5 separate regions of the Homo sapiens genome follow, and regions 1, 2, 3 and 4 are each linked to region 5. Evidence: promoter capture Hi-C in 16 types of primary human blood cells and fetal thymus (Javierre and others, 2016). All regions are on one chromosome and are shown on one strand. The core of a region is centred on a gene start or on the middle of the fragment in contact, and the rest is flanking DNA. Distances in the headings are between cores, read along the strand shown.

The links. Contacts are between HindIII fragments. The CHiCAGO score rates a contact against its expected background, and 5 or more counts as called.
Region 1: a fragment that was not itself captured here is called in contact with the fragment with the promoter of CKM in region 5 in 4 of 17 cell types (total B cells, M2 macrophages, fetal thymus and 1 more); the score reaches 5.8 in total B cells.
Region 2: a contact is called between a fragment that was not itself captured here and the fragment with the promoter of CKM in region 5, in 1 of 17 cell types (M0 macrophages). The highest score is 5.2, in M0 macrophages.
Region 3: a contact is called between the fragment with the promoter of RELB here and the fragment with the promoter of CKM in region 5, in 2 of 17 cell types (M2 macrophages and erythroblasts). The highest score is 8.4, in M2 macrophages.
Region 4: a contact is called between a fragment that was not itself captured here and the fragment with the promoter of CKM in region 5, in 5 of 17 cell types (endothelial precursors, M2 macrophages, erythroblasts and 2 more). The highest score is 5.6, in endothelial precursors.

The regions. Positions count from the first base shown.
Region 1 is chr19:44,836,095-44,838,794 of GRCh38, reverse strand. No RefSeq gene overlaps it. Among named protein-coding and RNA genes, the nearest start is that of NECTIN2, 8.9 kb to the left of the region's middle. The HindIII fragment of the contact is 4,470 bases long and covers 1-2,700 here.
Region 2 is chr19:44,960,408-44,963,107 of GRCh38, reverse strand. CLPTM1 (CLPTM1 regulator of GABA type A receptor forward trafficking) reads right to left here. Exons shown (of 14, transcript NM_001294.4): 2 at 1,033-1,145. Among named protein-coding and RNA genes, the nearest start is that of CLPTM1, 6.4 kb to the right of the region's middle. RefSeq lists a silencer at 1,222-1,375 and an enhancer at 1,542-1,861. The HindIII fragment of the contact is 5,952 bases long and covers 1-2,700 here.
Region 3 is chr19:45,000,073-45,002,772 of GRCh38, reverse strand. RELB (RELB proto-oncogene, NF-kB subunit) reads right to left here and starts at 1,309. Exons shown (of 12, transcript NM_006509.4): 1 at 1,088-1,309. The coding sequence starts at 1,193. RefSeq lists silencers at 476-755, 1,076-1,485. The HindIII fragment of the contact is 31,053 bases long and covers 1-2,700 here.
Region 4 is chr19:45,041,000-45,043,699 of GRCh38, reverse strand. The region is part of intron 2 of CLASRP (CLK4 associating serine/arginine rich protein); the gene reads right to left. Among named protein-coding and RNA genes, the nearest start is that of CLASRP, 3.3 kb to the right of the region's middle. The HindIII fragment of the contact is 4,283 bases long and covers 1-2,700 here.
Region 5 is chr19:45,321,578-45,324,277 of GRCh38, reverse strand. It overlaps CKM (creatine kinase, M-type), which reads left to right and starts at 1,403. Exons shown (of 8, transcript NM_001824.5): 1 at 1,403-1,457. RefSeq lists an enhancer at 437-679. The HindIII fragment of the contact is 13,711 bases long and covers 1-2,700 here.

The DNA of each region.
Region 1 (2,700 bases), core at 51-2,550, 490 kb after region 5:
CCAGGCTAGCGTACAATGGTGTGATCTCGGCTCACTGCAACCTCCGCCTCCCGGGTTCAAGCGATTCTCCTGCCTGAGCCTCCCGAGTAGCTGGGATTACAGGTGCCTGCCACCACGCCCAGCTAATTTTTGTATTTTTAGTAGAGACGGGGTTTCTACTAAATCATGTTTGCCAGGCTGGTCTCGAACCCCTCACCTCAGGTGATCTGCCTGCCTCGGCCTCCCAAAGTTCTGGGATTACAGGCGTGAGCCACCGCACCTGGCCTTTATTTTTTTTTTTTTGAGACAGAGTGTCGCCCTGTCACCCAGGCTGGAGTGCAGTGGTGTGATCTCGGCTCGCTGCCACCTCCGCCTCCTGGGTTCAAGTGATCCTTGTGTCTCAGCCTCCTGAGTAGCTGGGATTACAGGCGCGTGCCACCATGCCCAGCTAATTTTTGTCTTTTTTTTTTTGTAGAGACAAGGTTTCACCATGTTGGCCAGGCTGGTCTCGAACTCATGACTTCAGGTGATCTGCCTGCCTCGGCCTCCCAAAGTGCTGGGATTACAGGTGTGAGCCACCGCACCTGGCCTAAGGCAACCTTTTTGCTTTTCTCTGTGTCTCTTTATTTTTCCTTAGATAATCACAATAATTAACATGTACTGCACATGGACTCTGTGCCAGGCTTTGTACTAAATACTTCCCTGGTTATCTCATCAAATTCTCCCCTCCATCCTCTGATCCTCTGTGTGCATTTGCTGTATTTTTTTAAAGGGAATTTTCAATTCTGTTATATAGGGAACAAGAGCCCTATAAATAAGGACACAGACAGGTGAAATGAAGGATGGATATTAAGAAGCAACTCAAGCCGGGCGTGGTGGCTCACACCTGTAATCCCAGCACTTTGGGAGGCTGAGGCAGGCGGATCATGAGGTCAGGAGATCGAGACCATCCTGGCGAACACGGTGAAATCTTGTCTCTACTAAAAATACAAAAAATTAGCCAGGCGTGGTGGCACCCGCCGGTAATCCCAGCTACTCGGAAGGCTGAGGCAGGAGAATCAGTTGAACCCGGGAGGCGGAGGTTGCAGTGAGCTGAGATCGCGCCACTGCACTCCAGCCTGGGCAACTGAGCAAGACTCCGTCTCAAAAAAAAAAAAAAAGCAACTCATGAGACCTGTTAGACATACTAAGAATGTGAGCTGAACACAGATGGGAGGGATGCAGGGATCCAGTAAGCTCCAAGCATTCATGCGTCCTGTGGGCGACACCCACTCTGCTCCATGAGTCCCAAGCCCAAGACACAGGTAAAAGCTGTGGCTGCCAAGCAGGTGATCAGCCAGCTACAGTCATCTAGCTTCTCATGTTTATTTTTGTTGTTGTTTTGAGACGGAGTCTCGCCCTGTTGCCCAGGCTGGAGTGCAGTGGCGTGATCTTGGCTCACTGCAAACTCCGCCTCCCGGGTTCAAGTGATTCTCATGCCTCAGCATCCCCAGTAGCTAGCATTACAGGTGTGCCCCCCTACCCCTGGCTAATTTTTGTATTTTTAGTAGAGATGGGGTTTCACCATGTTGGCCAGGCTGGTTGAGAACTCCTGACCTCAAGTGATCTGCTTGCCTCGACCTCCCAAAGTGCTGGGACTACTGTTATTTTATTTTTTGAGACAGGATCTCGCTCTGTTGCCCTGGCTGGAATGCAGTGGCTGGATCACGGCTCACTGCAGCCTCAGCCTCCCAGGCTCAAGGGATCCCCCTACCTCAGCCTCCCGAGTAGCTGGGACTACAGGCGTGTACCGCCACATCAGGCTAATTTTTGCATTTTTTGTAGAGACAGAGTCTCTGTTTGTTGCCAGGGCTGGTCTCGAACTCCTGGGCTCAAGTGATCCTCCTGCCTTGGCCTTCCAAAGTGCTGGGATTACAGGCCTGAGCCACAGCGCCCAGCCTGTTTTATTTTTTGAGTTTTGCACAACATCTTTTGTTTTAATCAAATCTCTTTGTTTTACTCCCATAGATTTGGCTTCAAAATTGAAGATCTAGATTCCATGTCCAGAGAAAGAGAGAACCTGATGAGTCTTGAGAACAAGACCAGGGACAAGATCTCTGAGCTGGAGTTCAAGGTCAACAGCCCACTTTGGTTAACAAGAGGCACCTCCTGGCTGTCCAGTGCTTCCTCGTGGAGGAGTCAACTGCTTCTCTTGGGAGGTGGAGGGTGTTCCCATCCAAGTGCCTCCTCAGGCCCTAGAGAGTCAGGGATTGGTTGCAGTTCCTGAAGTCTCTTCCTAGGTCTGTGGACCTTCTAAGGAATTCCACTGACCACTTTCCCCACTGGAGTCCAGCAACACCATTAGGATGTGAATTATTATTATTATTATTATGTCTTGGAGACAGGATCTTGCTCTGTCTCCCAGCCTGGAGTACAGTAATGCCATCATAGCTCGCTGCAGCTTTGACTTTCTGGACTTGAGCGATCCTCCCACTCTGAGTAGTGGGGACTGCAGGTGTGTGCCACCATGTTTGGCTAATTTAAAAATTTTTTTGTAGAGATGGGATCTTGCTGTGTTGCCCAGGCTGGTCTTGAATTCCTGACCTCAAGTGATTTTCCCGCCTTGAGCTCCCAAAGTGCTGGGATTACAGGCGTGAGCCACTGTGCCTGGTGGGTTGTGAAGTTTGTTCATTGATGTCTCCCCAGTGCCTGGCACACAGTAAACACTCAATACACTTTTTA
Region 2 (2,700 bases), core at 96-2,595, 360 kb after region 5:
GCCTCCTGAGTAGCTGGGACTACAGGCACGTGCCACCACACCCAGCTAATTTTTGTATTTTTTTTGTATTTTTTATTTTTTTTGAGACGGAGTCTTTCTCTGTTGCCCAGGCTGGAGTGCAGTAGCGCGATCTCAGCTCTCTGCAAGCTCCGCCTCCCGGGTTCACGCCATTCTCCTGTCTCAGCCTCCGGAATTTTTTTATTTTTAGTAGAGATGGGGTATCACTATGTTGGCCAGGATGGTCTCGATCTCTTGACCTCGTGATCCACCCGCCTCGGCCTCCCAAAGTGCTGGGATTGTAGGTGTAAGCCACCGTGCCCAGCCAGATTTTTTTATTTTTAGTAGAGACAGGGTCTTACTATGTTGCCCAGGCTGGTCTCAAACTCCTGGGCTCAAGCAGTCCTTCCAACCTGGCCTCCCAAAATGCTGGGATTATGAGGGTGAGTCATTGTGCCTGGCCCAGATAGGGTCTGTAAAAAAGTAAGGTTCAGTGAGGTCATTATGGTGGGTACTAAGCCAGTATGACTAGTGTCCCCATAAGAGGAGCTTAGGACACAGACACACACAGAGGAAAGACCACATGAAGACACAGGGAGAAGACGGCCTTCTGCAAGCCCAGGAGAGAAGCCACAGAAGAAACTGCCCCTGCCCACAGCTGGATCCTGGACTTCCAGCCTTCAGAACTGTAAGACAATGAATTTCCTATTTCAGTTGTTTAAGCTACTCCGTCTATATTACTTGATACAAGGGCCCTAGCAAACTACTTCAGTATTTTTTGTGTTTTTATTTTTTCACAAATCAGGTAGCCCCCCAAAAACCAGAACAGGTTCAGGGAGACTCCCTACTTCAGTATGTTTTACCAGAGTAAAAAAAAGGTTTAGAAAACATTCCATCATACAAAAAAAAAAAGAAAAAAAGCAACTCTACCATACAGTAATGATCACCATCCTCAGCTGATCAGCTGACTTTTCCTTTCTTCCTTATTTTTATTTGAATGTTTTCGGTGAACAAACCCAAGTCCCGTCTGCTCACCTAAACAGCACACCTTTGATGACCTGCCAGGCATTGGGTGCCGGCTGGGCCGGTGGGTTCTGAGGCTGGGTCTCCGCTGGCGGGTCCCTCCCGATGCTGCCATTGCTGGTCACCTGTGGGGGACAGAGGCCAGGGTAAGGAGGGAGAATGGACACGGGGGCTGTCTTAGACACCATCATGCATGAAGGCCAGGCACAGGCTGGGCAAAGAGTGGGTGCTTATCAATAACTGGAGAATGAATCAGTGAAAACACCTGGGAAGGTGCGGTCCTCTTCTTTTAGGAGGAAAACACTCGCAGAGCACCTCTGTGACCTAGGGACAGTGGTGACCTAGAGAGTCTTTTGCTGTCCTCCTGGGGTTTAACAGCCCGGTGGGGGAGAAAGATTCATCTCTAGACAGTGACTGTCCAGAACGGGGCAGGAATGCAGGAGCCCTGAGAGGCACCTGGTCCAGTCTAGGGTTCGGGGCAACTTCCTGGAGAAGGGGGCATTGAAGCTGAGACCTAAAACATAGCAAGTTGGTGGCACAAAGGAGGAAGTGAGAGAAGCAGCAGGTGCAGAAACAGAAGATTAGAGGCACAGTCTGATTCTGATGACTGTCCACTGTTCCCTGGGGCTGGAGCCAGGATGCAAGGAGGTGGCTATTGGGGACAACAACAGAAGGAGTCTTATGGCAGGTGCCAGATTCTTCAAGGCTGGGGCTTAGCTGAAAGAGCCTTCCCTGGGCAAACCATTCCTGAGGCCCCCTCTGTGGCCAACCCTGCCCTCCAAGGGCCCCTGGTCCAGCAGGTGGGACAGACACAGAAAAACACAACCAGACTATCAGCTGCTACCATAAGCCACGGCCACAAGACATGTCTGTGACAGCACACAGCACACTAATCCTGAGGCCAAAACTATGACCAGCTCCATCCGGCTGCTGAGCAAAGGGAGGCTCAGAGAGGTGAAGCCACTTGTCTGGTCACTCAGGAAGGACCGCAGAAGCAGAATGACAGAAGGGAAGGGGGGCAGGCAAGGGAGCCAGGCACGGCTTCCCAGAGGAGGACTCTTCACTCAGACACAGAAGGTCACAATCAGAGACTCTCTGAATGCCAGGTTTGGAAGGGGATGTTCTGCTCACCCTTCACGCACCCTGCTAGCTCCCCAGTCCTGTTCTCATTCACCCCTCCTCCCAGCTGTCCCCTCAGCCATCAGCCTTCAAGAGGCAGGACCAGGGCTATCACAGTCACAGTTAGCTCAAGAGCACCAGTGGCACAGAGCAAGGCTGTGATAAACACCTGTGTGGCCACCGCTGCCTGAAGGACTCACCCCGGACGCTCAGGTCACCCAAACCCACTTCCCTCTGAGGCTCCAGTGTCTGGCCCTCTCCTCCACAGCCCCTAGTCCACTCCTCTGCAATGTTTTCTCCATTCACCTTACCCACCAGATAGCAAATGTCCCAGGAGCATGGTTAGAGGGGCTACATGTGTTAAATGTGTCACTTGTCACCTCCTGTCCCCTTCACCAGCAAGAGCTCTTTCCTGTAATCTCCCAAAGCACAGGACACCATTGGAGGGGCTCCAGGGTCAAACAGACCTCAGCTATAGTCCTGGTCCCACCGTTCTTGGCTGTGACACCTTGGGCACATCACTTCACCTCTCTGACCTGTGGACCAGGTTGTGAAAATACT
Region 3 (2,700 bases), core at 60-2,559, 320 kb after region 5:
GGCCTTTAGTTTCTGTGGTTCGCCCCACCCTTCATCACACTCAGGGCCCGCTCCTTTTCTCCCTTAAAGTTGGGCCTGGAGGGGACCCCATCTCAATCTCAGTTTAAAAAGTCCCCATCCCGCTGGGCACAAGGGCTCACACCTGTAATCCCAGCACTTTGAGAGGCCGAGGCGTGCGGATCACCTGAGGTCAGAAGTTCGAGGCCAGTCTGACCAGCATGGTGAAACCCCGTCTCTAGTAAAACTACAAAAATTAGCCGGGTGTGGTGGCGGGCACCTGTAATTCCAGCTACTCGGGGGGCTGAGGCAGGAGAACTGCTTGAGCCCGGGAGGCAGAGGTTGCAGTGAGCCTAGATCGTGCCACTGCACTCCAGCCTGGGCGACAGAGCGAGACTCCATCTCAAAAGAAAAAAACAAAAAACAAACAAAAAAAAACATCCTCCTGTCAGGGTCAGACCACTTTTAATTTTTTCAATGTCAAGGCTCCGCTTCTCCGTCTGGAGGCAAGCCCCACCCCCTCCTCATTCTCTGTGTCGGGCCCCGCCCTGCTTTTTTGGGTAACAGGCCCTTCCCCTCCACTCGGCCAGAGTCAGGCCCCGCCCCTTCCCCTTCTTTCGGCCAACTCAGGCCCCGCCCCCTTCCTGCCCTCACGGCCAGGCCCCGCCCCCTCACCCCTCAGCGTAGGGCCCTGCTTCCTTTTTTGAGTCAGGCCCGGCCCTCTTCTCATAGTCCGGGTCGGATCCCGCCCCTCTTCTCCCTCTCTGGGCCCGGCCCCGCCCCGATACCGCCCAAGAGCAGCTTTCGCTCCGCCTTCTCTGAGTCAGGCCACGCCCCCTTCTTTGCCTCAGGGTCAGGCCCCGCCCCCTCTCACTCTACAGCGGGACGCCTCGCTCGAACCTCGGGCCGTACCCCCTCATCACCCTCTGCCTTCTTCCTACGCCCTAATACAGTGTCTCAGGAACCCTCACTCTGCCCCCGCGAAACCCTTAGACTCCCATAGGAACCCCCAGACTACTCCGGGACCGCCAGAATCCCCGCATCTCCAGCCCCGCCCCAGACCCCTCTCCTGAACCCCAGCCCCGCTTACCTAAGGCCCCCAGCTCCGGCGCAGCCGGCGGTCTGGCGACGCGGCGACTCGGCATGGCCCGGCCAGTGGGGACGGACGGCCCAGAGGCTGGCCCAGACCGAAGCATGCACGCGGGCCGGCCGGGCGGCCGGGAGGCACGGTCTGGTGGACGATCGCGGGTCGGACGAGCGGCGCAAGGGCTGGGGCCGCAGGCCGGGCAGGACGCGCGGCGCCCGGGGCTGCGCGGGGCGCGGGGCCGGGCCGGGCGGGCGGCGGGCGGGGGCGGGGCGGCGGAATTCCCCGGCGCCGCCGGCCTGCGCGCCCATTGGTCTGCACCCCGCCGTGACGTCACGCCTGGGGAACGGGAAAACCCCCACGCGTCACGTGATCGCGGGGGCGGGGCCGGCCGGGAAAGGGAGGCTGGGCGCTCAGGAGGGGTTGGGCAGGCGTCGCTGCCCATTGCTCTGGACGAGACAACTGAGGCCTGCTTAGAGCCATCACGCCTTACCCATTGAGCAAGCCGGCAAACTGAGCCGCTCCCCGCTTTGGTCTCCCAGTGGGACTTGAACCTGCCGTTTCTCAGGCTGGAAGGGGAGCTTCAGGATCGAGAGGTTGGCAGGGCTCTACACCTGCCATCCATAATAATATTTCGGAAACCTCCAAGGTCTCGCTACACCTCAGTTTCCTCAACCGTAAATTGAGGATGAAGATATTTAAGGAACGTTTAAAGCTAGCGTGTCAGCTTCAGAATTTATGTTTTGTGCGTTGTTGTAACCCCAACGCCTAGACCAGCGCCTGGAACACCGTAGGTGCCCAATAAATGTTTATTGGAGGCCGGGCGCGGTGGTTCATGCCTGTAATCTCAGCACTTTGGGAGGCCGAGGCAGGCACATCACGAGGTCAGGATTTCGAGACCAGCCTGACCGACATGGTGAAATCCCATCTCTACTAAAAATACAAAAATTAGCTGGGCGTGTTGGTGTGCGCCTGTAATGCCAGCTACTCCGGAGGCTGAGGCAGGAGAATAGCTTGAACCTGGGAGGCGGAGGTTGCAGTGAGCTGAGATCGTGCCACTGCACTCCAGCCTGGGCAACAGAGCGAGACTCCCATCTCAAAAAAAAAAAAGTTTATTGGATGAATGCATGGATGTTTTATTTATTGGTTTGTTCCTCCCTGCAGCCCCTGAAAGTTACCCATAAATAGCCCAGACCACTTTGAGCTCAAAAGCTCAGTTATTCAGTCTGCGAATGGCAGCAGTGTAGCCTCCGTATACATCCTGAGCTGTGTGCCTAAACCCTGAGCTCATCCCTATCACCAGCGCCAGAAGCATATGATAGGATTATTGCAGAAGGGACTCAGGCTGAAAGAGGGGCAGCCATTTGGCTAGATCACATTCCTAAGCCTCTCATATTCCTGAGAACGACTAGGTGATCTATTAGGTTCTAAGTTGGATGCCAGGCGCTCTCAGACCACAGATGCAGGGTTTGTTGTCTTTCCTTTGCTTGTATAAAATTTGGGTGTTCTGGCTAGGCACGGTGGCTCACACCTGTAACCCCAATACTTTGGGAGGCCGAGGCAGGAGGATTGCTTGAGCCTGGGAGGTTGAGGCTGCAGTGAGCTGTGATGACGCTATT
Region 4 (2,700 bases), core at 66-2,565, 280 kb after region 5:
TCTCTGCTGAGTGGAAGTAAGAGCGGTCTCTGTCTCACAGGTGACTGTGGGGATTCAAAAAAAATCCTGCATCTCTCACATGGCCTGGGGGTGCCTGCGAAGGATCAATTAAATGGTTAATTACTATTGTTAATATTGTTTTATTCATCTATTCTTTCAAACCATATTTGATGGACCCAACCCTAGGGTACAAACGTGACCCAAATATAATTAGTCCCCAGTCTCACAGAGCTGGGTATGTGCATATACGTATGAATGGAAAAAATTTTTTTTTTTTTTTTTTTTTTTGGGACGGAGTCTCGCTCTGTCGCCCAGGCTGGAGTGCAGTGGCACTATCTCGGCTCACTGCAAGCTCTGTCTCCCGGGTTCATGCCATTCTCCTGCCTCAGCCTCCCGAGTAGCTGGGAGTACAGGTGCCCACCACCACGCCCAGCTAATTTTTTGTATTTGTAGTAGAGACGGGACACACACACACACACACACACACACACACACACACACACAAAGTATTCCTTATCTGAAGTGCTTGGGATCAGAGGTGCTTCAGATTTTTTCAGATTTTGGAATATTTGTCTATTCATAATGAGATATCTTAGGGATGGCACCCAAGTCCAAAGACCAAATTCATTTATACTTTATAAGCACAGCCTGAAGGTAATTGTATACAATATTTTAAATAATTTTGTGCATGAAACAAAGTTTGTGTAAAGTACTTATATGTGAAACTTTCCACTTATAGTGGGGCATCATGTCAGTATGCAGAAAGTTTCAGATTTTGGAGCTAGCCGGGCGTGGTGGCTCACGCCTGTAATCCCAGCACTTTGGGAGGCCGAGGCAAGCAAATCACTTGAGGTCGGGAGTTCAAGACTAGCCTGACCAACATGGTGAAACCCTGTCTCTACCAAAAGTGCAAAAATTAGCCAGGCATAGTGGCACATGCCTGTAATTCCAGCTACTCAGGAGGTTGAGTGAGGCAGGAGAATAGCTTGAACCTGGGGGGTGGACGTTACAGTGAGCTGACATCATGCCACTGCACTCCAGCCTGGGCGACTAAGCAAGACTCTGCCTCAAAAAAAAAAAAAGATTTTGGAGCATTTCGGATTTTGAATTAGGGATGTTCAACCTGTGTATGCGTATGTGTGTGCGTGTGTGTATACATACATACACACACATATATATATATATATAAATTTTTTTTTTGAGATGGAGTCTCACTCTGTTGCCCAGGCTGGAGAGCAATGCAACCTATGCCTCCCGGGTTCAAGCAATTCTCCTGCCTCAGCCTCCCGAGTAGCTGGGATTACCATTTACTCCTGTATTACTGCCCCAGCCTCTTCCCTGGTCTGCTGGCCTCCAGTCCTGGCTCCTCCAGTCTGTCCTCCCTAGAAGAGTCCAGGAGGCCTTTCTAAAGCACAAAACTGACCCTGTCCCTTCATTGCTCAGAGCACCTCTATGGCTCCTAAGTGCCCTTGAGAGAAAGCCCAGGCTCCTCACCACCTCCAGCTAATTTCTGTATTTTTAGTAGAGACGAGGTTTCATCATGTTAGCCAGGCTGGTCTCAAACTCTTGACCTGAGGTGATCCACCTGCCTTGGCCCCCAAAATGCTGGGATTACAGGCGTGAGCCACCACACCAGGCCCATGTATGTGTATCTTAAGTGTGTTAAATTCCACAAAGGGGAAGGAAAGGGAGCTATGATTATGGCATTTTTAGAGGACACCTGACTGAGCTTGGGAAACAAGACTTCTCTGAGGACTGAGATCTGACAGATAAGCAGTAGTTAACCAGGTATGGGAAGAGCTCATACAAAGGTCCTGTGGCTGGGGAGCGCTTGGGTCAGTGGAGGAATAGCAAGGAGGCCAAAATGACTTGTGCAAAGGAACAAGGCAGAGTGTGGGGTGGTGTGAGTCTGGAGGAAGGGCAAAGGCCAGGCCATGCAGGACCCTAAAGGCCACAGTGAGGAGCCTGGGCTTTCTCTCAAGGGCACTTAGGAGGCATAGAGGTGCTCTGAGCAACGAAGGGACAGGGTCAGTTTTGTGCTTTAGAAAGGCCTCTTGGACTCTTCTAGGAAGGACAGACTGGAGGAGCCAGGACTGGAGGCCAGCAGACCAGGGAGGAGGCTGGGGCAGTAATACAGGAATAACTGGGAAAGGTCTATATAAATGTCATCTGACAGGAACACTGAACCTAGAAAACAGGTGCCATTTCAAGCTGGGATCCCAAGGATACACAGGAGTTAAATAGGTGAGGGGGGGTAATATAGGCCAAAGCCCTGTGGTGGCAGAAATAGAAGGCCAGTGGAGCTGTCCGAGTATGAAGCTGAGTGGTCAGACCACAAGGGTCTTTTAGGCCAGGGATAGTTTGGTCTTCCCCGCAAAAACAACTGAAGCATCAGACAGGAGAGGGAAGTGGTCAGGTTTCACTTAATATTCACTCCTTTTTTTTTGAGACAGTCTTTTTTTTTTTTTTTTTGAGACAGAGTCTCGCTGTCGCCCAGGCTGGAGTGCAATGGTGCTATCTCAGCTCACTGCAGGCTCCGCTCTGCCCCCCTCCCCGGTTCACACCATTCTCCTGCCTCAGCCTCCCGAGTAGCTGGGACTACAGGCACCCGCCACCTCACCTGGCTAATTTTTTGTATTTTAATAGAGATGGGGTTTCACCGTGTTAGCCAGGACGGTCTCGATCTCTTGACCTTGTGAT
Region 5 (2,700 bases), core at 154-2,653:
CGTGAAGGAGACCCTCGGCAATCTGAGCTTGCTGGGAAAGGGCTGGGCCCCATGTAAATATTTCTAAAGCACCCCTCTCCCCTCCCCCCTCAGATCAGGAGTCTGAGGGAGAGGCACAGAGGCTCCCTTTCTCTAAGCCAGTCCTCACCTGCCTAAGAAGATGTGAAGGAGACCCAGGAGACCCTGGGATAGGGAGGAACTCAGAGGGAAGGGACATTCTTTTCTTCGTCGCAATCCTGGGAGCTCCCTGGAGGAGGAGACCCGATCAGCCTGCAATCCTGGCGCGTCCCAGGAGGAGAAAGCGGCTTCCTCTATACTGTACTCTCCTCCACAGAACCCCCCTCTCAGCCCTGGAAGTCCTTGCTCACAGCCGAGGCGCCGAGAGCGCTTGCTCTGCCCAGATCTGCGCGAGTCTGGCGCCCGCGCTCTGAACGGCGTCGCTGCCCAGCCCCCTTCCCCGGGAGGTGGGAGCGGCCACCCAGGGCCCCGTGGCTGCCCTTGTAAGGAGGCGAGGCCCGAGGACACCCGAGACGCCCGGTTATAATTAACCAGGACACGTGGCGAACCCCCCTCCAACACCTGCCCCCGAACCCCCCCATACCCAGCGCCTCGGGTCTCGGCCTTTGCGGCAGAGGAGACAGCAAAGCGCCCTCTAAAAATAACTCCTTTCCCGGCGACCGAGACCCTCCCTGTCCCCCGCACAGCGGAAATCTCCCAGTGGCACCGAGGGGGCGAGGGTTAAGTGGGGGGGAGGGTGACCACCGCCTCCCACCCTTGCCCTGAGTTTGAATCTCTCCAACTCAGCCAGCCTCAGTTTCCCCTCCACTCAGTCCCTAGGAGGAAGGGGCGCCCAAGCGCGGGTTTCTGGGGTTAGACTGCCCTCCATTGCAATTGGTCCTTCTCCCGGCCTCTGCTTCCTCCAGCTCACAGGGTATCTGCTCCTCCTGGAGCCACACCTTGGTTCCCCGAGGTGCCGCTGGGACTCGGGTAGGGGTGAGGGCCCAGGGGGCACAGGGGGAGCCGAGGGCCACAGGAAGGGCTGGTGGCTGAAGGAGACTCAGGGGCCAGGGGACGGTGGCTTCTACGTGCTTGGGACGTTCCCAGCCACCGTCCCATGTTCCCGGCGGGGGGCCAGCTGTCCCCACCGCCAGCCCAACTCAGCACTTGGTCAGGGTATCAGCTTGGTGGGGGGGCGTGAGCCCAGCCCCTGGGGCGGCTCAGCCCATACAAGGCCATGGGGCTGGGCGCAAAGCATGCCTGGGTTCAGGGTGGGTATGGTGCGGGAGCAGGGAGGTGAGAGGCTCAGCTGCCCTCCAGAACTCCTCCCTGGGGACAACCCCTCCCAGCCAATAGCACAGCCTAGGTCCCCCTATATAAGGCCACGGCTGCTGGCCCTTCCTTTGGGTCAGTGTCACCTCCAGGATACAGACAGCCCCCCTTCAGCCCAGCCCAGCCAGGTACTGCACGGGGCGGGAATCTGGGTGGGGGCCAGAGTAGGGGATTTCTGTGGGTGCTAGAGGCTTGGCTTGGGAAAGGGTCTGTGTGTCACCCCTTGCTCCACCAACATCCTCCTATACAAAGGCAGGTCGGTGCGTGGGAAGGTTGACCCTTGTGTGTCTGGGAGGCCCCTCCATCTGTGAGGCTGCCTGAACCCCCCACTGGGACCTGTGATTTCTGCGGCACAAGTCTTGGGTTATGGGGAGGGATCCGAGATGAAAGGGGTCCTGACAGCTGCCAACTGTCACCCCCTGCAAGGGGCTGTTGAGCCAGGCCTGTGTTCATTACAGTTTGTCGCCAACACTGGCGCCACAAGCCGTGGGAGGTGTGTCTGTCGCCTAGCAGAGTCTGCAAGAGCAGGTGTCGCAGGCTTTCTTTGCGTTTGCTACTGTGTGGGTCCCTGTGACCTTGTTTCTGACTTAGTAGCGGACACATGAGTGTCCTGGGCATGTCCTTGAGTTTGGAAGTGTGACTGTGTGACTTAGTTTACAGTGTGATCTGGGGAGTCTGCGGTGGTGGGGGTGTGTGGCTCTGGGGCTTTCTGCTTATGTCTCTTGTGGGGGGGGTCACCACCCTGCCTCAGTGCCCTCTCCTGGGGTGTCCCTGGCAGGGATTAGGGGGGCATCCTCTGAAGGGAGGGGGTCTGGGCTGCCATCCCAGGATGTCCTTGAGCCCCGAGGCCTGGACCCGTGTCCTCCCAGCCACCCTGGCCCACCTGTCTTGGGCCTGCTGACTTGGTGCAAGCCGAGCCCCGGAATGTGGGGGTGGGGCGGGGCAGCAGCTGGGGGTGGGATGGCAGGCAGTTGCCAGATTCTAAAAATAACCACCCTGGACAGCAGCACCCAAGGTCTTTGGCGGGTCCCTGTTCCTCTTCCCTGGCTTCAGCTCACCGTGGTCCCAATCTCCCTCCCACAATCCCACCTGCTTCCCATCCCCGTCTCCCACCGCTGCTGGAGGCCCCTTCTCCTTTCTGGGTCCCTTCTCCTTTCTGGGTCCAGTGAATAAAATAATAATAACAGTAGGACCTGGCGCAGTGGCTCACACGCATAATCCCAGCATCTTGGGAGGCCGATGCTGGAGGATCACTTGAGGCCAGGAGTCCCAGACCAGCCTGGGCAACATAGTGAGACCCCATCTCTGCAAAAAAGTAGTAATAACAAATAACAATAATAGCAGCCACCAGGGTTCCAGGCTCCAACTCCA